2 separate regions of the Homo sapiens genome follow, and region 2 is linked to region 1. The links are contacts of gene promoters, found by promoter capture Hi-C in human tissues and cell types (Jung and others, 2019). All regions are on one chromosome and are shown on one strand. The core of a region is centred on a gene start or on the middle of the fragment in contact, and the rest is flanking DNA. Distances in the headings are between cores, read along the strand shown.

The links. The method cuts DNA at HindIII sites, captures the fragments that hold promoters and counts their contacts. A contact is called where the count stands out against the background at its distance.
Region 2: a fragment that was not itself captured here is called in contact with the fragment with the promoter of RARA in region 1 in 1 of the 25 tissues and cell types used here (bladder).

The regions. Positions count from the first base shown.
Region 1 is chr17:40,305,844-40,311,993 of GRCh38, forward strand. It overlaps RARA (retinoic acid receptor alpha), which reads left to right and starts at 3,337. Exons shown (of 9, transcript NM_000964.4): 1 at 3,337-3,443. RefSeq lists enhancers at 2,764-3,649, 3,029-3,198, 3,209-3,338, 3,650-4,533, 6,123-6,150. The HindIII fragment of the contact is 8,948 bases long and covers 1-6,150 here.
Region 2 is chr17:41,983,872-41,990,653 of GRCh38, forward strand. DNAJC7 (DnaJ heat shock protein family (Hsp40) member C7) reads right to left here. Exons shown (of 14, transcript NM_003315.4): 6 at 6,393-6,511; 7 at 5,533-5,686; 8 at 4,861-5,025; 9 at 3,948-4,039. Among named protein-coding and RNA genes, the nearest start is that of CNP, 20 kb to the left of the region's middle. RefSeq lists enhancers at 4,073-4,573, 4,574-5,074. The HindIII fragment of the contact is 3,275 bases long and covers 1-2,903 here.

The sequences.
Region 1 (6,150 bases), core at 2,087-4,586:
TGTATATTATATATAATATACATATTATATATTATATACATATTATTTATATATATATATATATATATTTTTTTTTTAGATGGTGTCTTGCTCTGTCACCCAGGCTGGAGCAGTGGCGCGATCTCTGTTCACTGCAAGCTCCGCCTCCCGGGTTCACACCATTCTCCTGCCTCATCCTGAGTAGCTGGGATTACAGGCACCCGCCACCATGCCCGGCTAATTTTTTTGTATTTTTAGTAAAGATGGGGTTTCACTGTGTTAGCCAGGATGATCTCGATCTCTTGACCTCGTGATCCGCCCGCCTCGGCCTCCCAAAGTGCTGGGATTAGAGGCTTGAGCCACCATGCCTGGCCGGTTATATATTTTTTAAATATCTTGAGACGTGTTACCTTGACTGCTGAGGGAGGACAAAAGAGATCCAAGATTGAAATTTTATTTACATTTGTATCTGTGCCTAGCAATTAGTATAGTGCCTAATACCTGGTAGGTACTCAATAGTTGTTTAACAGATAAGTGAACCAAATAAGATACTGCCTTTCCCTCAGTGGTGAGAACAGTTCTAAGCTGAAGGTAAACGTTGGTGGTACTTTTGCACAGAGGTGGAGCAGGCCCCTGCATAAGAAGGGTGCTCTGTCTTACAAAATGTGTCTTGGCACAGTTTTGGAGCATTTATTAGCCTCACAGATGCATTCCAATCACTCCCTCTGATGTAGTGGCATTTTGCTTGAGGCAACTTCCATGTTGCTGGTGGGACGCTTTGGCTATGAGGGGAAGAGTCTTATCTACAGGCTGTGAAGAGGGCTGCCTGTCTGGATGTCACTCAGTGTGGCTAGATTGGCCAGAAGCTGGGTCTGTAGGCAAGGGTTTAGGGAGGAGCCCACCTTTGATGTCCCTCTTTTTAACTTGGGGCAAGTTGTGATCTCAGGTTCTTCCTGAAAAGATAAGGTACTTTCTAAGATACCTTCTCTTAAGCTACAAACAGTGCAGGTCTTCCTCTTAGAAGAGGTGTGTTCCGTAAGGGGAGAAGGTGTGCCCTCTGGCCTCCCCTTGATTTTCAACCCCAGCCCCAAGGCACTGGTAGTGGAAGTTAATTGGGTGCAAGGGGCTTGGGTAAAGGCTGAAGACTGGTGAAAGGAGAGAGCCAGCTTCGTTTTTTAAAAAGCTCTAATTGAGTTCTGAATCAGCCTCACTCCCTTTGATCCCTCCTCTGTTTCCCACACTGCCTGAAAGAGCTAGATCAGCACTTTATAACAAGGGTGCGCCTGCTCCCCGCACCGCCCCCCGCTCCTGACGCTCTCTGCTGCCGCCATCCACTGCTTGTCTCCTTCAGTTAAGATAATGAAGATGCTGAGAGATAAAATGTGTATTTAATAAGGGTGGGGGTAGGGAGGCGGAAAGGGGCAACCAGGGCCTTCCCTAGTTTGGGGCCTCGCCAAGACTTAAGCTGAAAGCAAAGCTAGAGTAAGACTTGGCCCCAGGGTGTGGGGGTTTCTGGGCCTCAATCCAGCTGACTTCACTGCCTGCTGTTTGCCCTAAATTCCCCCACCTCCACCCTCTCACCCCCACACTGCTTTCTTCTTGCTCCCAATGGGAAAAAGGACTCTTGCTTCAACTTTCTTTTCAGCTGGTAACTTGGCCTTTGGTGCGGTGCCCCCCACCCCAGTGTCAGCTGCAAGGTCGGGCTAGGGCAGCCCCCTCTAGCCTAGGCCTGTAGAAGCTGTGGGTTCACAGTGGGGGGTGAAAAAGCTGGAGTTAATGAAGACCAGCTGCTAGTCTGGGTTCTGCCTACAGCTAGCTGGAGGCCAGCCTTTGGTGGTGGTTGATGGGGGGGTGGGGTGACCTCCATCCATGGGCACAAGGATATCCTGTGGCAGCTAGGCTTGTGCTTCTCTCTGAGCTTAGTTTTATCCTTAGTTTATAAGAGAGTATCTGTTTCCTTCCCCTACTCCTCTCCTCCCCAAATAACACTCAGCTCTTATTGAACTTTATAACTGTAGTGGTGGCCCAGCTGAGATCTGAGGATCTCCAAACCCTTTTGTAAACACTCATTAACTGCCTGGGAAGAACGAAGAGCCCTGTTTAACAGCTGGGAGAGAACTGAGGCACATTAGGGTGAAAGGTTTGACCTAAACTCACCCCATGGACTCCACCCTGGGGCCTTCCATCCTTAGTCCAGCTCCTTTACTCAGTTCTTCCTGCAAGACAGAGGTGGAGGCATTGCTGGTGTCTTCTCCCCTTCTAGGGAGAGGCCATGCCCTCTCCCCTCAAGTCTGTCGCTGACTTCCTCTGGCCCTTCCCCTCATGACGTTTTCCCTGCTCTGCTGCTAGAGATATGTGCAACTCTCCTTGCAAAATGTTCTCAATCCACAACTTCAGAATTCTTATCCAGCTTTCTCTTGCCCATCTAGCCCACCAAACCTGAATTCTCCCTTTTGAGCTACTGAGAAGACTGGCTATACTAAACTGAATCAGTGACCTTGAAGTTGATCTGTTGTATTGAGGTCCCTCTGCCCCTATATTTATCCTAAATGGTATCTAGGAAAATATTCTCTCTTTAACTTGTTTATTCTGGTCATAAAGATTCGGGACATTACTGAGGGCTGGGTAGGGGCACTAGTTGACCTCTAGGTTCTACGTCCTGTTCTTCCACTGACAATTACCATTTCCAGTAATAGGTGTAACCCAAAGTTCTTTTTTGTTTTTTTCTCCTTCCCTAACCCCACCTGTTTATACTCTTGCCTATATATGTGTATTTGCAGACCCCACACATTCCCAGATACACATACATTGGTCCTACATGTTTCCCCTGTTTCCAGCTGCCATCTAAGTGAGCCTGCACTTTTTACATGCTGAAAATCTTTTTTCACCCTCTATGGCCTCCTAGGTCCTTGGGAATAATTGGGAGGGATGAAGGGACTCCTGCAGTCCATGAGGAAGAGGACAGAAGTGAGCGCCCAACCAAAATGAATGCTCCCTTTCCAAAATCTCTAGCTGAATGCCTTAGCAGGAGTGGCAGGGAAAGAGATCTTAACCCCACCTCCAGCACCAAAACCTAAATCCATCTGCTCAGGGCAGGCAGGAAGAAATGTCTATTTTCTCCTGTTTCAGGTCATCCTATCCTCGAGTTATCCATATGCTGTGTATTTGAGACAGGGAACTGTTCCTGTCCCCAGCCGATGACCAGACGCCCATCTTTCTTCCAGTGGGTTACTTCTCCCCCATCAGTCCTTCGCTCTGCGCCCGCTGACCCAGTCGGGGCTGGCTGGTGGAAGAGGGCGGGGAGAGCCTTCTAGTTGGCGAGTGGGCTTTAGGACCCAACGGGAACCCGTGCCTCTTGCAGCAGCCTAACCCAGAAGCAGGGGGGAATCCTGAATCGAGCTGAGAGGGCTTCCCCGGTTCTCCTGGGAACCCCATCGGCCCCCTGCCAGCACACACCTGAGCAGGTAGGACCATGCACACCCCTTCCCAATTCTTTGGCCGCCTTTGACCCCGGCCTCTGCTTCTGATCTAGCCATTTCCTTCTCGCCAGTTCTGGCTTTCCCCATCCCTCCTCTCCCGTCGCTCACTGTAGTCCTGGGAGGTGGGAGCCTGGGAACAGTGGGGTGTCTGAAAGCTCAGAGCCCTCTGCACCCTCCAGCACCCTTCCTGCATTTCTCCTGAGGCAGTTCCCGTTCTCTAGATAAGAGTGGGGAGTAGGGGGAAGGTCTGCCCAGGCCCCACGCCCTTGCACCCTCCTTTGCGGTATTGCCTAATACCCCTTCCCCCACCTCACCTAGACTGGAGAATTGGCAAGTGCTGAGGTAACAGAGAGAGGAGAGAGCCAGAGAGGGACCTGAGCTTTCCCAAGGGATTTCTTTCTTGCTTCCTCACCCAAAGAGCTCAGGACTTTGCCCCTACTCCCTACACACCTTGTAGGGGAACTAATGTCCCCTTCCAGGTTCATCTCACACTTGGGTGGCTAAAGGCTTTGCTAGAGGGTAGTGGAGGTTGTGAGCATTTTGGTGAGCTTTTCCTCTAGGAAAGTTCTTTCAGCTTAGAGCCCCCATCCATGTCAACATTTCAACACCTGCTGCAGAAGCCCCCCGACCCCACCTGTGTGTGTGTGTGTGTAGGGACAATGTGGTTGTAAGATCTAGAAGCTTTGGATAGAGGTGGCTGCATGCATTGAAGGGGAGGGATACCAGAGTGTGGCCCAGGCCAGAACAGGCTCAGTCCAGATGGCTAGGGAAGGGGGTGTGGACCAGATTGAGGAGGTCACCCAGCCTTGCCAGCTCCCTGAGCTTCTTGGCTTTCAGAATCTCAGGCTCCTGGTGTTTCTCTAGAGCTACAAGGTCCCCAAGCTTCTGCCCCGCTACAGGCTCTCTGGGAGAGGGCTAGATGGCACCTACTGTTTACAGTGGCTTATTTTTCTCTCCTGTGGTGGGCAGACAGGCCCTGCTCTCTGAAGATCTAGGGCGTGTCATTCTGGTTTGGTGGGTTTACAGGAAGGGTGTACACCTTGTCTGACTTACCATGTGTGAGTGTGTGTCTTGCTTCTGGGGGTAGTAGACTGGGGAGGGGGGTGATAGAAGAGACTGGTCACACTGAGGGAACTCCTCTAGCAATCAATGTATGATAGGAATGGGTGGCATGTCCCCATCTGGTAGCTCTGTCTAGGTGTGGGGTGTGCTCTGCATTCTTCCATGGCTCCCCGGGTCCCCTAAAGGTTGGTTTTAGAGGACAGGGTGGATAATGAATTGGCTTCAGACTTCGTTCTGGTCTTGATCCAACAAGGAAAGTAGAGATTCTGACTGTGAGCAGTGAACTAGGAATCAGAGGCCTGAACTGGAGACTTAGACTGGTTACTTAACTATATGTGTTTATATAGGTCTTCCCCTTTGCTAAGCCTTAGTTTCTCCATTTGTAAAAATGGCTATCAGTAGCAAGCAGGGACATTGCCACTAAAACCACAGAGACAATGTATCGTAAAGCTCACTGCAAACGGTAGTAATGGCTGGGGGAATCTAGGATGGAATCCTCTTCCTAAATCTAGGTCAATCTCTCCGCCTTTAGTTTTCTTCCCCCATCCTTTGCCCATCTGGGGGATGGAGGAACTAGGCAGGGCTATTGCCCCGGTTACTGCAGAATTCCCCTAATGCAGGTTGTAGCTGTTACCAGAGCACCTGTGGTCACAGAGTACAGATCTCTCCACCAGGCATTTCTTCCTCTGGGGCCCCATACTTGCTCCCCTGAGCCATGTCTCCACCTTCCTTCTGCCATCCCTGCTTGGCGTCCTTGTCTCTCTCTCCCCTGCCCAGTGGCCTCCTTGTCTGGCTCACTGGGCAGGAGCCCTAATCGGATTCGACAGCTGAGATATGTGTGGCGGCTAAGAGCAGGCAGGAGGGAAGCCAGTGGGAGGATGGTATGAGGACTGCCCCTGGCACTGCCCCGGCCTCCCAAGCACCACCTTGGGCCTGCTGATTTCTTACTTGGCTTGGCCCCAAGGAAGGGGTGCCAGAGGAAGCTCAGGAATGAACAGGCTGGGGTCTGGAGACTAGGAGAGGAGGAAACACACCAAGGTCCTCAGGACCTGGTTGATATTCGATGACCTTAATGTCAGTGTCACTGACTCTGACAAGGAGGAAAGGACAGCGATGAGCCAGGCTGACCCCCGCCACCCCATTCCCATAGCCCCACTTTCTTCTCTCTTCTTGTTCAGAAATGTTTCACTTTGCCTCATCTAGCCCCTTTGGCCAGTAGGTCACATCTGGGAGCTTCTGGGGGTGCCACATGTCTGCCTCAATCTGGGCTGTTTCCTCCCCTCCAAGATATTTCACTGTCTCTGGGCTGGGCGCCAGGACTCCTGGGTTTCCCTGCCTGTGGTGCAGGGCTCCCCTGCAGGGCTCCAGAGAGTCGCTTAGCTGGTTTCCTTCCTCCTTTGTGGGGAGGGCCTTCCCCTAGGGCTGGGAGGTGTCAGGAATCCCAGGTGGGACAGGGGTGGGGGCACAGTAGCCTCTGGCACTGTAGCACCCCAGCTTCTCCCTCCTAGCCTCTGACTCAGCTTGGGGGCAGCACATGCCCAGCCTGGCAGGCATGGCCTATTCTTGCCTCCAGGCTTCTCTCTTTACAGAAGCCTACATCTCCTGCTCTCATTTTTTAGTTTTTTTCCCC
Region 2 (6,782 bases), core at 16-2,515, 1.7 Mb after region 1:
GAGCAGAAAGTAATCAAGAGGAAAAAGTTCCTTCTGACACACAGCCACCTAAGAGGTACTGGACTGCCTTAGAAAAGACAATGTGAAGGGATCTACTTGATTACTTTGGGTTGAAACACACAAGAGAAAAATTATCAAGTGAATAAATGGGTATGAAAGAGCTTTGAAACCTATAGTGCCATAAACATGCAGGACTAGCTACAATCCAGAATAGAGGTGGGATTAGTGAGCCACTAAAAGGATCAAGTTCAACGTGGCAGCTGCTGGCAAATCCCTCCACTAAGACCAATCAATGAGAGATGCAGGTAAATGAGACAGAAAAGGGAACTCTAAACACAGGTTTGCTTCTATTTCAGTAGCACAAAAGAAAGGAGGGGCCCTTGGCCCAAGATCGGAGGAATCAAGCTTGACAGGATGATTGCGAGATCTTTTTTTTTTTTTTTTTTTTTTGAGATGGAGTCTCGCTCTGTTGCCCAGACTGCAGTGCAGTGGTGTGATCTCGGATCACTGCAAGCTCCGCCTCCTGGGTTCACGCCATTCTCCTGCCTCAGCCTCCAGAGTAGCTGGGACTACAGGCGCCCGCCACCTCGCCCAGCTAATTTTTTATTTTTTTTTTTAGTAGAGACAGGGTTTCACCGTGTTAGCCAGGATGGTCTCCATCTCCTGACCTCGTGATCCGCCTGCCTTGACCTCCCAGAGTGTTGGGATTATAGGCGTGAGCCACCGCACCCGGCCGACTGCCAGATCTTTTAAGTGTCTCTTCCACAGAAGCAAGTGGCATTTTCCATGCCCAGATAAAATCACTGGCACCAGGGCTGGCCTACCAATTGAAGACTGTGGTAGGAGTTCCAGAGACAGCCACTGTCAGCTGGGGAATGGGAAGTGATCATGCAGTACAGCTAGCTGCTGTACAACAGAGATTCAATTTCTTACCTGCTACCACACAAGCCCATTTTCTTTCTTTTTTTTTTTTGACACAGAGTCTCACTCTGTAGCCCAGGCTGGAGTGTAATGGCACGATCTCTGCTCACTGCAACCTCCGCCTCCCAGGTTTCAAGTGATTCTCCTGCCTCAGCCTCCTGAGTAGCTGGGATTACAGGCATGTGCCACCACACCTGGCTAATTTTTTGTATTTTTAGTAGAGATGGGGTTTCACCATGTTGGCCAGGCTGGTCTCGATCTCCTGACCTGAACCGATCTGCCCGCCTCGGCCTCCCAAAGTGCTGGGATTATAGGCGTGAGCCACTGCGCCTGGCATAAGCCCATTTTCACAAACATCACAGATCCCCACCAGCTTGGAGGCCAGGGCAGGAGAGTGCTACCAATGTGGCTGGCAAAAGAGAAGCCCAACATCTTGGGCATCTTTGATTTTCTGGCATCATTTTGATTTATGACTTTAAAAAAACCAATGGCCTGCAAATACAGGACATAAATATTATATTAGGAGTTCAGAATCAATGTACAGAATAAAATGTAATAATTTGAAGTAAGAGAAATGATACTTTGATACTGCACTCCAGCCTGGGTGACAGAGCTGGATCCTGAATTAAAAAAAAAAAAAAAAGGAAAATTGATAGCTGATAGCCCTGGGTATAGAATGATGTGACAAATGATTAACCCTGATGAACTTTCTTTAGGTCTATATGTAATGTATTAAACAAACTATACTAATTTGCATTTTTACTTCATGCTTTTTAAAATTCAGGGATATCCTCACATTTTAATTTTGTTTTAAAGTTGAAGTAGAAAAGTAAATAGGGCTTTAAGGAGAAAGGGTGAACTCTAGCTCATGATGGCATGTGTAGCAAAGATGTGGGTGGGTGGCATCTCCCCAGCTTTAGGGGTAAGTTGAGGCAGACTGCAGCAGTAGTCAGGCCAGATGTAAGGGTTTGGCCCGAGCTAATCTCCAGTACTTCTTGTCAATTCCAGCTGCTTCAGGAGATTGTTGCCAAATATTCAGCCAGCTGAACAGGGCATGCTGTCTCCCCTGTAGTGATCTCAGAGGCAGAGCCACTCCAAGAAGGGCAGTTCTGTTTCTACCACAAAGATAAGAAGTTGTCTGATCAAAGCAATTCCTTATTTTCATTTCTTGCACATAAACAAAGAAGAAAATAATCCTTCATCCAATTATCCTCCGAGCAAATCAAGAATTTTCTATGGTGTTGGGGGCTTGCTTAAAAAAAAAAAAAAAAAAAAAAAAAAAAAAAAGGCCGGGCGCGGTGGCTCACACCTGCTGGTAATTCCAGAACTTTGGGAGGCCAAGACAGGCAGATCACTTGTCATCAGGAGTTTGAGAACAGCCTGGCCAACATGATGAAACCCCATCTCCAATAAAAATACAAAAATTTGCTGGGTGTGGTGACATGCGCCGGTAATCTCAGCTACTTCGGAGGCTGAAGCAGGAAATTCGCTTGAACTCAGGAGGTGGAGGTTGCAGTGAGCCAGTACGGTGCTACTGCACTCCAGCCTGAGCGACATAGCGAGACTCCATCCCGAGCGACATAGCGAGACTCCATCCCAAAAAATAAAACAAAGCGATTTTTCTCTTCTCTTCCCATCCCCTGGCATTCCATATACAGAGCATTCCATTAAGTTCATACAGTATCAAGTATCTAGCCACCCCCTTCCCACTGGACATGTAGGTGATTCTCCCCCCGCCTTTTTTTTTTTTTTTTTTTGCTATTATAGATAAAATTGCAGCAAACACCTTCATGTATATAGCATTTTGCGTCTGTTAAAGTCAGTCTTTGGCTGAATCAAAGGGTGCTTTTTTTGTCTTCCAAAGCTTCTGCTTCTGTGTGCCAGTGGTTTGCAAAGATGGAATGACTGACAGTCAGTCTCACAGAAGTTATAATTCCCTGTATGTTTCTGTTGGACAGACTTAGTCATCAACTTAGAAATTCACTTTTAAAAAAAGCATCACACACAGCAGCAGTTTTCCTATTTTAAGTGAGATAATTTTGAGAAAACTAAGTGGGAGGTAGTCCATGAGATATTCTGTACCACTGATGAGACAAGGAAGCTTAAACTACTGGCTCATCAGGCATCAGTGACAGCATCTGTTCTTTGGATATGACATTTTATAATAAGGAGTGGAGCAGGTGCTGGAGGATTAGTATACAATAAATACATCTTCTCTAAGAACTTTAAAGACGGGAAGTTTTTCTCCGCCTAGAGAATAATCTGAAATCAGAAGAGATGGATTTCTGAGAAAGATTTCTCCTAGCCCTGTTCCTATCTGGAGAAAACCAGCTGGTGGGTCTAAGAGTAAGAGGAGCAACCATGCCAGGGAGCACCCTGACTCTGGGGCAAATGTGAGCATTAGAGGTAGGCACATCCTGGCTCATAATCACCCTGTCAGACACAGAGTGCCCTCCACTCAAAACACTCAAGCAGAGAGTAGCCATCCAGGGTGTTTCAAAAGGAAGTTCCTTTATCCTGGGAGGCTGAGCCGGATTACATCTCTTCCAACTCTAAGATTGTCTTCCCTCGCCCAGAACAAACAGGATGAAGTACAACTCTCAACTGTCTCCAAGAGTTGTTTTCTCTTCCAAGCACCATACATTCATTCAACAAAACATTTATTCAGTGAGCACCTATGTGTCAAGCACTGTGCCAGGGTAGAGCATAAGTGTACAACACAAAATAAAATCTCCAAAGGAAATGGATTTAAACTTTTTAACAAAAGGAATTTGGGTCAGGCATCAGAGGAAACTTACTGACCGTGAGGGGCGTTAGACACAGGCATGGGAGACTGAGGGAGCTTGTGCAATCTCCTCCGCTGGAGGTCTATAAAGATAGTCTAGGGCTGGAACAATCCCACCTAGAGGCAGGGGGAAGGACCAAATGACCTCACAACATCTCTGGGTCTGCTTCGTCATCCACAAGGCAATTCCCCTGAGGCCAGCGGCAACTCCCTCTTCCCCCTACCCATCAGAGGCACTTACCACTGAGCTCTTCTCAAGTAGGCTTTTATGTAAGTGTCATCAAGCTTCACTGCATTTGTGCAGTCTTCTATTGCATCATCTAGTTTCCTAAGCTTCAGGAGAGAGAGAGCAATCATACTTCACACCTTTGGTGACTGAGGGAGCCCAGAAGCTGTGAGCATGGCTTCAAAACTCTAAGAGGATCAGTCATGCTGGCCCCTTAAATGTCATATTAAGTTCTAGTTCTTTGTCACCAGGGCTATGGACAGCAACTTCAAAATTGATTTCTCTTGTATATGATACAAGCCAGGCACATCTGTCTTCAAGGATAAACTACCTTTACCATTCCATGTTAGTGCCCAATGAAAACATGAAAATAGTAAGGCTGGTTCCTGCCCTCCTTTTTTCCAGAGGTCACCTGCAGGGATCAGAAATCACTCTGATTTTTAACTGCTAGAATTCTGCAAGGGCAAGGAGTCTACTTTTTGTTTCTGATGTTGGGTAGGGCCACAAAAGCACTCAGGCCATTTTCAACCATGCATGGTGACCATCAATTACACTGGAGAAAAACAAGCTTGCCTCATACTCTTCCTCCAAATCACTCCTAAAAAATAAATGATCACTTGCATAAGCAAAACAACAAAAAAGCAACAGTAGGTGCTTAAGATTATCCCACAGACCCTAGCCATTCTCTTACTGGAGGAAAGGGACCTTAATGAACAGGTGAGAATATCCTTGCAAATTGTCCAACTGCCCTCAAATTCCATAGAGATGACAAAAGCTTGCCTCTTGGAAGGGAGTTCCTAACAAACTATTAACCATAACAACTTTCCCTCTTTCATCTTGCTTACCCTCACTAGGCAGATTTCCCAAGACCCTTTGATGTCCCTTAAAAATATTTCTATAGGCCCCAAGATCTAGATCAAGAGCTTACCTTGGAATTAACCGTACCCCGATTACAGTAGAGTTTAGCATTTGTTTTTATATTGTTGGGGTCTATCCCCAGGGCTTCTGTGTACAGTTCATATGCTAGTTTGTAATTTCCTTCCTTAAATGCTTTATTCCCATCTTCTTTCTTTGCTTTGAGTGCTTTGGCATTCTACAGAAAAAAGCAAGGGGAGGATCGGTTCATATCCACAAAGCCTCAGACCATTGCACAGAGAGGCCAGACTCTATTTTCAAGTTCTTTGCTTCCAGCAGTTCAGCATCACAGAGCCCCGCCAACCCCCAATCTGGGCTATCTGTTGCTCATTTGAGCTTCCTACAGAGTGGACAGGAAAAGAGTTACCAAAAATACCAATGAGACCTATGTTACTGGGTCTGCCTTCACTTCTCAGGACAAGTATTACTATCTATCTTCACTGAGGGGAAAAACAAAACAAAAAAACCCTCTTAGATATTAAAGGCATCCGACCCTATATGATCACATCTACCTTTAGGTAAATACAAGTAGTCCTGAAACCATTTCTAATAAAGACCAAGCATCCTTGCAAAGCAGGAGGAAAAGCTATCACATTCCTTGTGATTCTAAAACCTTCCACTCTAGCCATCTTAAAGGTCCCAAAAGGAAGCTCTTTCCCAGTTAGGTCTGGTGACTAGAACTTACTCTGCAGGCAATGCAGGCCTTCTCGTGGTCAGGAGCCATCCTGAGAGCCTGTACGAAAAACTGAACTGCCTTCTCAATACAATCTTCGTAATAAAGGCAAAGACCTCGTACATACAGAGCATCTGCATTGGTGGAATCCATTCGTAGAATGTCACTGCAATAGTCAGAAAAGGGCACATTGAGCTGTGCTTTAGAATGTCCCCACCATTACTACCATTTGTGGCCAGTTTTCCTCCTTGACCATGTGTCTAGCATTCAAAATATCCAAAGGTAGACAGATTCCCAAGAACTGTTCCCAAACTTTCCCCAAATAAACCACCTATAATTATCTTTAATACACATCTTGTGTCTTACAATCCTTATTAAACTAGAACAGGGTTTGGCAAACTACAGCCCACAGGGCCAAATCCTTTCTGCCACTGGTTTTTGTAAATAAAACACTATTCAAACAGCCACACCCATTGGTTCATCTATTATCTAGGGCAACCTTTGCACTGCAATGGCAGAGTTGAGTTAGTTGCAACAGAGACCCTGTGGCCTGCAAAGGCTAAAATCTGGCCCTTTGCAGAAAGTGTGCCAACCAGTGGAGTAGAAGGAAAAGGACTACCTTAAACAAACAAACAAAACCACAAAAACACAATCTGTTCTTTCATATATAGCTCAAGTACCTGCTATACTACTATACTCCTGTATACCCTACGGGTTTTCAAAGCTGGTCTAATCTTTGACTTTAAGTCCCAAGAGGGTCTGATCAGCCCTAGCTGGCCTACTCTGGGGACCATATCCTGTGGTGAAGCTGCCGGACACCATCAGTCCAATGGTATCTGGCATTTTAATGTCCAGCTAGCCTGACTGCATACCTAGCCACAGACTGTGCTTCTGGATAACGACCCAGCATTGCTAAACATTCTGCCTTGAGGATTTTGAAGCGATGGCAGGCAGGGGCAAATTCTAGGGCACGGTCCATGCAGAAAACAACCTGTAGGGAAGAAGAAAACAAATAAGGCTCTTCATCAGGGACTCCAGAAACATCTTCACTTTAGTTTAGTCACAGGTAACAGACTCAAAACTCAATGAGGTCTTTGGGTCCACTTCTAAGTAATATCAAAGTTTAAAAACATACCTAATTCATTAAATAAAAGCACTGAAATGAGGACAGCAAAGGCTCCAGATGATAATGAGGACAGTAAACATTTACTGGGTACTTTCATATATGAACCCATTTAATCCTCACAAGAATTTTATGAAAT